2 separate regions of the Homo sapiens genome follow, and region 1 is linked to region 2. The links are contacts of gene promoters, found by promoter capture Hi-C in human tissues and cell types (Jung and others, 2019). All regions are on one chromosome and are shown on one strand. The core of a region is centred on a gene start or on the middle of the fragment in contact, and the rest is flanking DNA. Distances in the headings are between cores, read along the strand shown. Region 1 overlaps ABCD4 (ATP binding cassette subfamily D member 4). Region 2 holds the start of VSX2 (visual system homeobox 2).

Region 1 (4,605 bases), core at 1,713-4,212, 56 kb before region 2:
CCTTTCTACACTCTGTGTGGTCCTTTCCTTCTGGCCTAGCCCTGGAGACTGCTGGTGGCAGACACCAAGGAGATCATCTGCAGTCGTTTTCAAATGCTGCTGCCCAGAGTCATGGGGGAGGGTGCCCTGCAGAGGACTCCTGGAGAAGCTGCAGGGCTGTGAATAGGCAGCTAAAAAGAAGAAGCCTGCCAGGTGCAGTGGCATGCACCTGTAGTCCCAACAACTCAGGAGGCTGAGGCAGGAGGATCACTTGAGCCCAGGAGTAGTGCACCGTGAGCACACTTGGGAATAGCCACTGTACTCTAGCCTGGGCAACATAGCAGAAACCCCCATCTCTTAAAAAAAAGAAAAATGTTAGGAGCAGCTTTCTTTTGTCCTTTTCATACTTTATATCTTAGTCTTCCAGTAAGAAGACTAAGGGGTTTCTTTAGAGGGTTCTAAAGAAAATGTCCTTGCTAGAAAAACCAGCTCTTAGATTTTCATCAGTAAAAAAAATTACCACTATCCAGGACTCAGTCTAGGATTCACATCTCCATTCTATCACCACTCAGGTTATAACTCTTAAAGTCACCAAGCCCCAGGTTCCCCTTCTGTAAAATGAGGACAATAATAGTTCCTATCTCAAAGGGTGTAGTGAGGATGAAATATCATTCATGTAATGCACATGTACAGTGCTTGACACATAGCAAGTGTTTCAGTGTAAGTTAGCTATTGTTATTTTACAGATGAGGAAGCTGAAGCCCAGAGATTGCAAGTGACTTGCCCAAGGTCACGTCACTCATTGGGAATAGGAATCAGTATGGCCCTAGTGGTGAGATGAGACATAGGGGGTCTCCTTCACACCCATCCCCTCACTCACCACCTTCCTAGCAAGCACTTTGTTGGTTGGGGTACCTCTCAGCTCAAGCTTAGCTTTGGTGCAAAGATGCGTGGGAGGCTGCTGCTGCTGCCTAACTTCTAGGCCTCTTTCTGATGGCTATGGCTTCCATCCTGCCTCTGCCCCCTGAGTAGCTGGGACTACAGGTGTGCCTCACAGCCTGGAGCTTTCACAGCCAGATAACTAAAGGGGCCAGGCTAGGGCTTATATAAGAGAAATTTGGGAGGATTGAGATAAAGGGGATAGTCTTCTTGATCATCCAAAACAGCTCATCTACCTTCAAGTTTTTCTTTGGCTCTGCTCAGAGCTGGCTCAGGCCCCTGGGTACTGGACCTTTCAGTTCCCACTTTTTCAGGGGATTAACTAAGGCACCGTAAGATGCAACTCTCTAGAACCCTGTTTAAAGGCCCTGGGATTTAGTTGCCCCTAGGAAACCAGCCTTGTCTGGTTCCCTCTTCCCATAGGGTCAGTGTTCACAGCACTGTGAGGCAAGGTCAAGAGCAGAGGTGATGTGAAAGTTTCTTGTTCTCTCTACCTTTGGGCCCATCTCCCTGGGTCCAGCTACTCTGTGTCATTGGCTCCAGGGACCAGCGCATCAGCCAGGACGTGGAGCGATTCTGCCGGCAGCTCAGCAGCATGGCCAGCAAGCTCATCATCTCCCCGTTCACCCTCGTCTACTACACTTACCAGTGCTTCCAAAGGTGAAGCCTCCCTCCTCCCCAGCCTGGTGTTTCCCCAGAGGGCCCTCAGTCAGCTCTCCCAGGTCAAGGTCCAAGAGAAGCTTATTTCCCCTCTCTCCCACCGTACCTTACCACGTGCTCACCCATCCCACGTGCTCAGGCCCCTGCCCTTCCTTTGGCCCTGTGTTGCAGTGTCACAGATATCCTGGCTCTGAGAGCTCATACCAGATGCCCCCACATAGGAGCAGAGGGCCCATTGGGCCACTCAGATTGGACAGGGGCTACCTGAGAGGGAACAGGAGTCAGGGCTGAGGCATGTGGGGATAGGTGGCACCCCACACCCTCTCCCTTCTCTCCCTCTCTCTCTATTTCAGCACAGGCTGGCTCGGGCCTGTGAGCATCTTCGGGTATTTCATCCTGGGGACCGTGGTGAACAAAACTTTGATGGGCCCCATTGTGATGAAGCTGGTGCATCAGGAGAAGCTGGAGGGAGATTTTAGGTGTGTCTCCCTCACTTGAGGTTTCTGGGCTGGGGCATAATAGTTAAGGAAGGGGATCTGGAGTAAAACTGCCTAAGTTCAAATCCTAGCTGTGCCAGTTACTAGCTGTGTGATCTTGGAGAGGTCTTTAACCTCTCCAAGCTTCAATGTTCTTGTCTCTAAAGTGGAAATGGTACCGTTGCCTACTGAGAGGATTAGGAGGATTAATGAAATCATACCTGAGAAGGTCTGAGAACCGTGTCTGCCTGGCCATCACCATCGTCATTGTCATCTCTTGGCCTTCTCACTGCCCTGGCATAACCGCCCTGTCTTGGATCAGTTGGGTGTGGCAGCCAATGGATCCAGTGCCTGCCCTGTGCTTCTTGTCCCCCTCCTTTGGGCCAGGCCCTGGGAGGAGGAGATGCTGTGAGCAGGAATACCCCTGTCCTCTCTGCAGAAAGCTGAGGGGCAGCCCTGTCTCTGCAGAGCTCCTGCCACACCACCTAGCCCTGGGGTTTTCTACCCCATAACAGTCCAGGAAAGGGTCAGACTGAGGCAGCCACGGTTTTGAGGCAGAGCCGGGCTCCGCTTGGGCGGTCTTTGTGATCCAGGACTCCAACAAGAGTGAGGCCAGTACTCCCTGTTGTCAGCACACATTTCCCTTTGGTCCGCCCAGGTTCAAGCACATGCAGATTCGGGTGAATGCGGAGCCTGCTGCTTTCTACAGGTGAGTCTGGAGAGATGGTTCCCCTTCTGCCTTGCCAGAGCTGAGAGTGGAGAAGGAAAGATGAATCCTCAACCCTCCCACCACCACCGAGCTCAGGGGCTGAGTGTTGTCACACTTGGCTGTGACCCTCTCCCTCTACCTCCCCCTGCCCTTGCCTGCCTCATCCTTAGGTCCAGGGGTTTGCTTCTGAAGCTGGTGGTTCCTTACTGTGGCCAGCTTTAGTCTTAGTGGCCTAGCGTGGGGCCTGAAATTGTCAAATGAATGAATGCCTCATCCTCTTGCTGGTGACTGTAAGACATCCGTCTGCCTCTGCTCTTCTGTCTGTTAAGAAGCTTTCTTGCCAGTGCCTGAGGTTCAAGCCTGATCCTTTGTCTCCGTAGCGTGGGATGGAATGGGAGCTTCTCAGAAAACCAGGAGACCTGCTCCCCACAATGCTGTCTAATGGAGCCAAGCGTCTGGTCTCCTGACGGCAGCAGCAGGAGCAGCAGCAGCGGCATGAAATCCCATCCCTTCCCTCCAGGGCCAGAACCGGTCCCTGTGCTCTGCCTTATGTGAGGCCTCTGAAATCAGCGTTAGGATTGATAGTGCAGGCAGAGGTTTGCGTTTAAGAAGTGGAAGCTACTCCTTGGCTCTGTACTTGGGGTGGATGTGATAGCCCTGGGACCTTTGCTCCTCAGTCTCTGCTGCAGTTTGCAACCTCCACCACTTGAGGGCACCAAGAATACTGGGAATCTGCGCTGGGGTGGGGTTGTGAGGTGGGCAGGGCTGGGTGTGTAAAAAAGTTGCTTTTGGAGGCCGGGCATGGTGGCTCATGCCTGTAATCCCAGCACTTTGGGAGGCCGAGGCGGGTGGATTGCCTGAGGTCAAGAGTTCGAGACCAGCCATGGCCAACATGGTGAAACCCTGTCTCTACTAAAAATACAAAAAATTAGCTGAGCATGGTGGCGGGCACCTGTAATCCCAGCTACTGGGGAGGCTGAGGCAGGAGAATCACTTGAATCCGGGAGGCAGAGGTTGCAGTAAGGCAAGATCCTGCCATTGCACTCCAGCCTGGGTGACAGAGCAAGACTCCGTCTCAAAAAAAAAAAAAGAAAAAAGTTGCTTTTGGATTCTGCAGCCTCTGCTCATGAAGCTCTGGGGAAGGCAGGTTAGTTTGTAGAGTTTCAGATGAGTTCTTCTGTGGCCTCTGTGCAAAATCTGAAATCTCCCTCCACCTTTTCTGCCTAGCGAATTTCTTCCCATCCTTGAAACCCCAGATCACCTCCTCTGGAGAGCCTTCCCAGACTCCCTTAATGGCTAAGCCTATCTGCTGCCATGGCCCTGAGGGCACACTTAGTACTCCTGATTCCAAGTGAAGAATGCAGTGTGCCTGCCTGCCCTCTGGACTGAGAGCTCCTCAAAGACAGAGATAATTTTCTCATTTCTTTATTGCACTAGCTAACTAGTGCAATGCCTGGTACACCTAGTGACCGCTCTGTGTATGTTTATTTAACAATAGTTTTTATTTATTGAGGGCTCCTTATGTGCTTGGCACTTTATATTTAGAAACTTTTAATTCTAACTCTAACCTATTACATAGGTATTATTGGCTCCATTTTATAGATTAAAAAAACTGAGGCTTGGAGGCTTAAGTAGCCTGCCTGTGTCACGCAGCTAGTAACTGGCCAGAGCCAGGATTTGAACTAGGTCTGCCCAACTCTAGAGTTTATGTTCTTCACACAGACAATACCATTAAGGCATGACTGAAGCCGTGAATGGGCGCTACCAGTAGACAGATCCTGAGACCAAGATCATTTGAATGGCCTTGGTTTCTAAAGGAGGGTGTGATATGGGACAGGCGGC
Region 2 (4,528 bases), core at 569-3,068:
CTGTGTCGCCGCTTCTTCCGTTTCTTGGTCTGGTTTAAAGCAGATTTGGACATTTTTCGATCGCTGGAGGAAACATCTTCAGAATCTGAAAAGCGGGCGTAGGGACATGCGGCAGAGTGGGGGACGCGCTCCGCTGTGCCCGAAACCCGCGAGGGCCCCACCCCGGGCTGCCTCCGCGAGCGGCGGGGACCTGCTCTGTCTCCCCAGGAAGCCTGCGGGCGCCCCGGTGGCCGTCCCATCCCTGAGCTCAGGCTGACCTCTCCCGCGCCGGGGCCCGAATCCGGAGGTTTTGAACAGATTTCGTTGTAAGAGAGGCAAAGGCCCCGGCGCGCTTGGGACCGGGACGACGGAGAGCGAGGCAGCCTTAGGGGGCCGCAGAGATCCCCGGCAGCGCTCGCGACCCTGCTGCGCCCTGCCCTGCGCGGCCAGCCCCAATGCCCCGGGCCGGAAAGTTGGCCTCGAGGAGCGAGGAGCGGAGCGGAGGCGTGGGGAGCTGGGCTCCGGGAAGACTGGGGGCTGCCGAGCACCGTCCTTTTCGCAAGGCGGCACAATGCGTCCCTACTCGAGGCCCGAGAGCCTGCGACGCGCTGGTTTTCGTTGCCTTTCCACGTAAAACAAAGTAAAACGCAACGAAAAATCGGGGGAATTGCCAAGCTCAAACAGGAATCGGAGGTTCGAGCGGGCCGCGACACACCTCCCGGAAAGCAGCGCGGGGAGAAGGCGGAGAGGTCACCCAGGGTCCCCGAGCCCGCGCGTCCCCGGGCTCCAGTATATAGTGGCGCTTACGTGGGAGAGGATGGCGGCCGCTTTAGCTGCCGCGATGGCCGGGTTGTCTGAGCTCGTGGGGGTGAAAAATAAACCCCAGTTGACCAGCGCGGGATTTGGGAATCAGACAACTTTGGACACCAGGGATGGGGCCGGAGCCGGAACAGCATCGGGCTCGAGGAGTGCGGATCCTACACCAGGCCGGGGCCGCAGTGGAGCAGCGGTGCTGGGGCCCTCCGACACGGCCGGCGACTCTGCACCACGGGCTCCGACACCCCAAACCCAGTTTTCAGTGGGGCTCCAACAGAGTGCCGTGGCCGAGCCCTGCCCGACGCGGGGACTGGAGAACTGCGCGGCCGCCCGAAACGCTTGGGGCCGAAACCCTGCGGACGCCGAAGCATCCTCCCGGGCCCCATCACCAGGCGCGTCGGCCCAAGGCCCAGGCGGCGACCCCCGGCCTGGCAGGAACTTTTCCGCCTGGAGGCCTGGTCCAGCAAGCGAGAGCCGACGGCGCGGGGCTCCCGGCTGTCGCCCCCCAGTCAGGCAGCAGCGCAACCTCTCCTCACCTACCCGAGCTGGCCGTCTGGCTGGTGTCCAGCGGCCCCGATGCTCTGCCCAATGGCTGCAAGTGGACGCTCTGCGGGTCGGACAGCACTTCCAGGAAGGTGGGCTGCGTGTAGAAGCCAGGGAGCCCCCCGGGCCCCAGAAGCCCCATGCCGCCCACCCCCGCGGGGCTGAGCACTGAGCGCGCCGCCAGCAAGTGCCCGGGGGCCAGGCCGTCGAGCGCTGCCCGCGGGTGGGAGCTCGGGGGCTCCTTGTTCAAGCCCAGGATCTCCTGGATGCCGAACCCAGTGCACCTGGCCGGGGCGCCCCCCGAGGTACTCTTGGCCACTGTCTCGGATTTGGGCTTGCTCAGCGCTTCCCCTGCTTTCCCCGTCATCTCCCTGTTCTTTGGAGGGGCTGAGGCCGCAGGTCTTTAGCTCCCCCCACCCCCCCGCCGGGCTTCCCGCTTCGCGAAGTTGGTCCCAGGTGCCCCCTCCGGTGTCTAATGCTCTGGAGCCCAAGGAGATTCCCCTTTTATCCAACCAGGCGGCAGCCCAAGTGGGGTCAGAGCTGAGCAGCCAATCACCGGGGCCAGGAGCGATTAGGAATTCCAAAAAGCTGGCAGCTCCCGCCGCAGGCAATGTCGAATGGCCAGGGTGCTGGGGGTGGAGCACCGGGTGGGCTCTGCAGGATGCCCATGGGCAGGGACCCCAGGGGCCGAAGTGAGACAACCAGGTTCAGGTTCAGGGCTGTTCCGGGAGGCAGAGTGGCTTGGGGCTCTGGGCAGATTCTGGCAGGGACAGGTCCCTGAGGTCAGGTGGAAGGATGGGCTAAGGGCAGAGGTGAGAGACTGGGAGACCTCCTTCCCTCAACTCCTATGCAGGTTGGCAGCATCAGGGCGGCCTGAATATGGCACCTCTGTGTAAACGGTTGAACAAGGGAGAGGTAAGTGCTGGGGCAGTGTGTGTGGTGGTAAGCTGGGAAAAGATCAGGCCAAGGTGTGCAGAGGGTGATGTAGGGGTAGGGAAAGTTTGCTTCCCCAGCACAAGGTATAATGCCTAGTTCGGAAGAGCTACTCAACACATATTGGCCCAATGAATGAATGATAAATGGGTCAGAAAGAGGGGTCCCTGGTGGGAAAGAGGAACAGTGATGATTACTTTTGGAGAACAACCATGGACATCCAAACCTCTTCCTAGAGTAAGCATGAAGCATGCCCAACTTTCATGGGAGGACTTGATTCTTCCACCCAATTCATTCGACTAATATGTATTGAGCTACTAGCTCCGACCTGGTAGCCAGGGGTTCCGCAGTAAATCAGACAAGGCAAGGGCCCTGCTATACTTCAGAGTTCATTGAGCAAACAGAATGAAGAGGAAGGGATTGTTGATGTGGAGGGAGAGGAAGGAGGAAGCGGGTGAGAGGAAATTAAAAGGTAAGCTGCTTTCCCCTGCACTCCACCACCTCAGCTAACTCTTCTGTGACCTTCTTGGGGCTGGGAACTATCTTATCGACCTTGAGGCTCCCTTCTTCACTGCGCCTAGCATATGGTCAGTTCATGGTAGGTTCCTTGAATTGAAGGCACCCTATGGGGAGATAAGGACTAGGTCCATTGCTTTAAGCAGAGATTGGAAAACCAGGCTGGGAAGATTCCATCCAGGATTTCTTAGCCAGTCAGGTGCAAACCCCCAAATGGAAGGAAACCCCCTAGCCATACCTGGCCTATTGCCAAGGTGTCTGGTACCCTCGTGGCTGCCATGGGGCCAGCCTGAGAGGTAAGAGGAGGCACCTCAGGATGTGGAACCTAGACCTTGCTAGCAGGGCTGTTGTGAGGAGGGTCTCCACTCCCATTGGTTTGGTCCACATAACAGCTGGAATTAGGTAGGGGCATCTCATGGTGCAGGAGATATCTGGGAGAGTGGTGCCTCTGTATCCCATAATAAGGCCGTGCCTACTGTGTGCCTACATCATCCCAGGCCCCTTACATGGTGTCATCTCTGGTGACACAATCTCAAGGCATTCTTCACCTTATATTCTATGGAGGTGGGTCCCAAGTAACACCACTCACGTAGACAACAATGTGAATGGTGCCCTCTGGAGTTGTGCAAAGCAGTAGACTCACCTGCCAGAAAAGAATTTCTGTCCCCATTTAATGGATACACAAACTTATGTTGCCTAAGAGGTTACCTAGCTAGTAAGCATCAGAGGTCAGATGAGTCAGCGCATGAGTCTGATGTCAGAAGCTGTTTTCTTTTGACTCCATCCCTCTCTCAGCCCACTCTCCATGCCAGCCCACCCTGGGAGGATGGATGAGGATGTTATGTTAATGGCATCTGTCATGTCCCTGACTTATCATGAGACATCCACGATGAGCCAGATGCCAGCTGATGGGCAAACGTGAGTGATGGAAAACAAGTGTGTGAGTGATGAAGTTGGCTCTTGCCAGATGAGGATGAAAAATCTCTTGACCAAACCCCATGTCTGAAGCTGCCAGTTCCCAATATCAGAGAGATAGTCGCCATCCTGCTGTAGGAGGTTGGAGACCGGGACAACCCCAGGCCCCCTGAGAAAAACCCTTGCCAGAGGCTGAAGGTGAAGGGAGGACTCAGCTTCCACCTGCGGCCAGCTCCACCCTGGGAGCTGGACTCCTTGACAGACTCCTGGCTACGGGGCTGTCTCTGAGCTTTTGAGGTGTCACTGTTACTGCTCCCCAGCTGCCCAGCTTGGGCTGGACCCAGACTTAAGACATTTGTGGCCGGGCGTGGTGGCTCACGCCTGTAATCCCAGCACTTTGGGAGGCTGAGGGAGGCGGATCACTTGAGGTCAGGAGTTTGAGACCAGCCTGGCGAACATGGTGAAACCCTGTCTCTACTAAAAATACGAAAATTAGCCAGGTGTGGTGGCGTGTGCTACTCCGGAGGCTCAAGTGAGAGAACTGCTTGAACCCAGGAGGAGGAGGTTGCAGTGAGCCAAGATCGCGCCATTGCACTCCAGCCTGAATGACAGAGGGAGACTCCATCTCAAAAAAAAAAAAAAAAGACATTTGTGGACCATAACGGGGGACCCTACAAGGAAATGCAGATCCCCACAGCTTGGGCCAGGGGTGTGGGGAGTGAAGTGAACCCTTTCAGAGGCATTTAGTTTGGTCACACTGAGTCCAAACCTGGGCCTTCTCTGAGCTCATCATTTCTCTTCTCTCTTAACATCGATTGCTTTACCT

Evidence for each region. The method cuts DNA at HindIII sites, captures the fragments that hold promoters and counts their contacts. A contact is called where the count stands out against the background at its distance.
Region 1: a contact is called between a fragment that was not itself captured here and the fragment with the promoter of VSX2 in region 2, in 2 of the 25 tissues and cell types used here (liver and mesenchymal stem cells).

The regions. Positions count from the first base shown.
Region 1 is chr14:74,293,306-74,297,910 of GRCh38, reverse strand. It overlaps ABCD4 (ATP binding cassette subfamily D member 4), which reads left to right. Exons shown (of 19, transcript NM_005050.4): 5 at 1,462-1,578; 6 at 1,932-2,057; 7 at 2,713-2,763. Among named protein-coding and RNA genes, the nearest start is that of ABCD4, 7.3 kb to the left of the region's middle. The HindIII fragment of the contact is 3,358 bases long and covers 1,284-4,605 here.
Region 2 is chr14:74,236,739-74,241,266 of GRCh38, reverse strand. VSX2 (visual system homeobox 2) reads right to left here and starts at 1,818. Exons shown (of 5, transcript NM_182894.3): 1 at 1,336-1,818; 2 at 1-85. The coding sequence starts at 1,705. RefSeq lists an enhancer at 1-467. The HindIII fragment of the contact is 17,172 bases long and covers 1-4,528 here.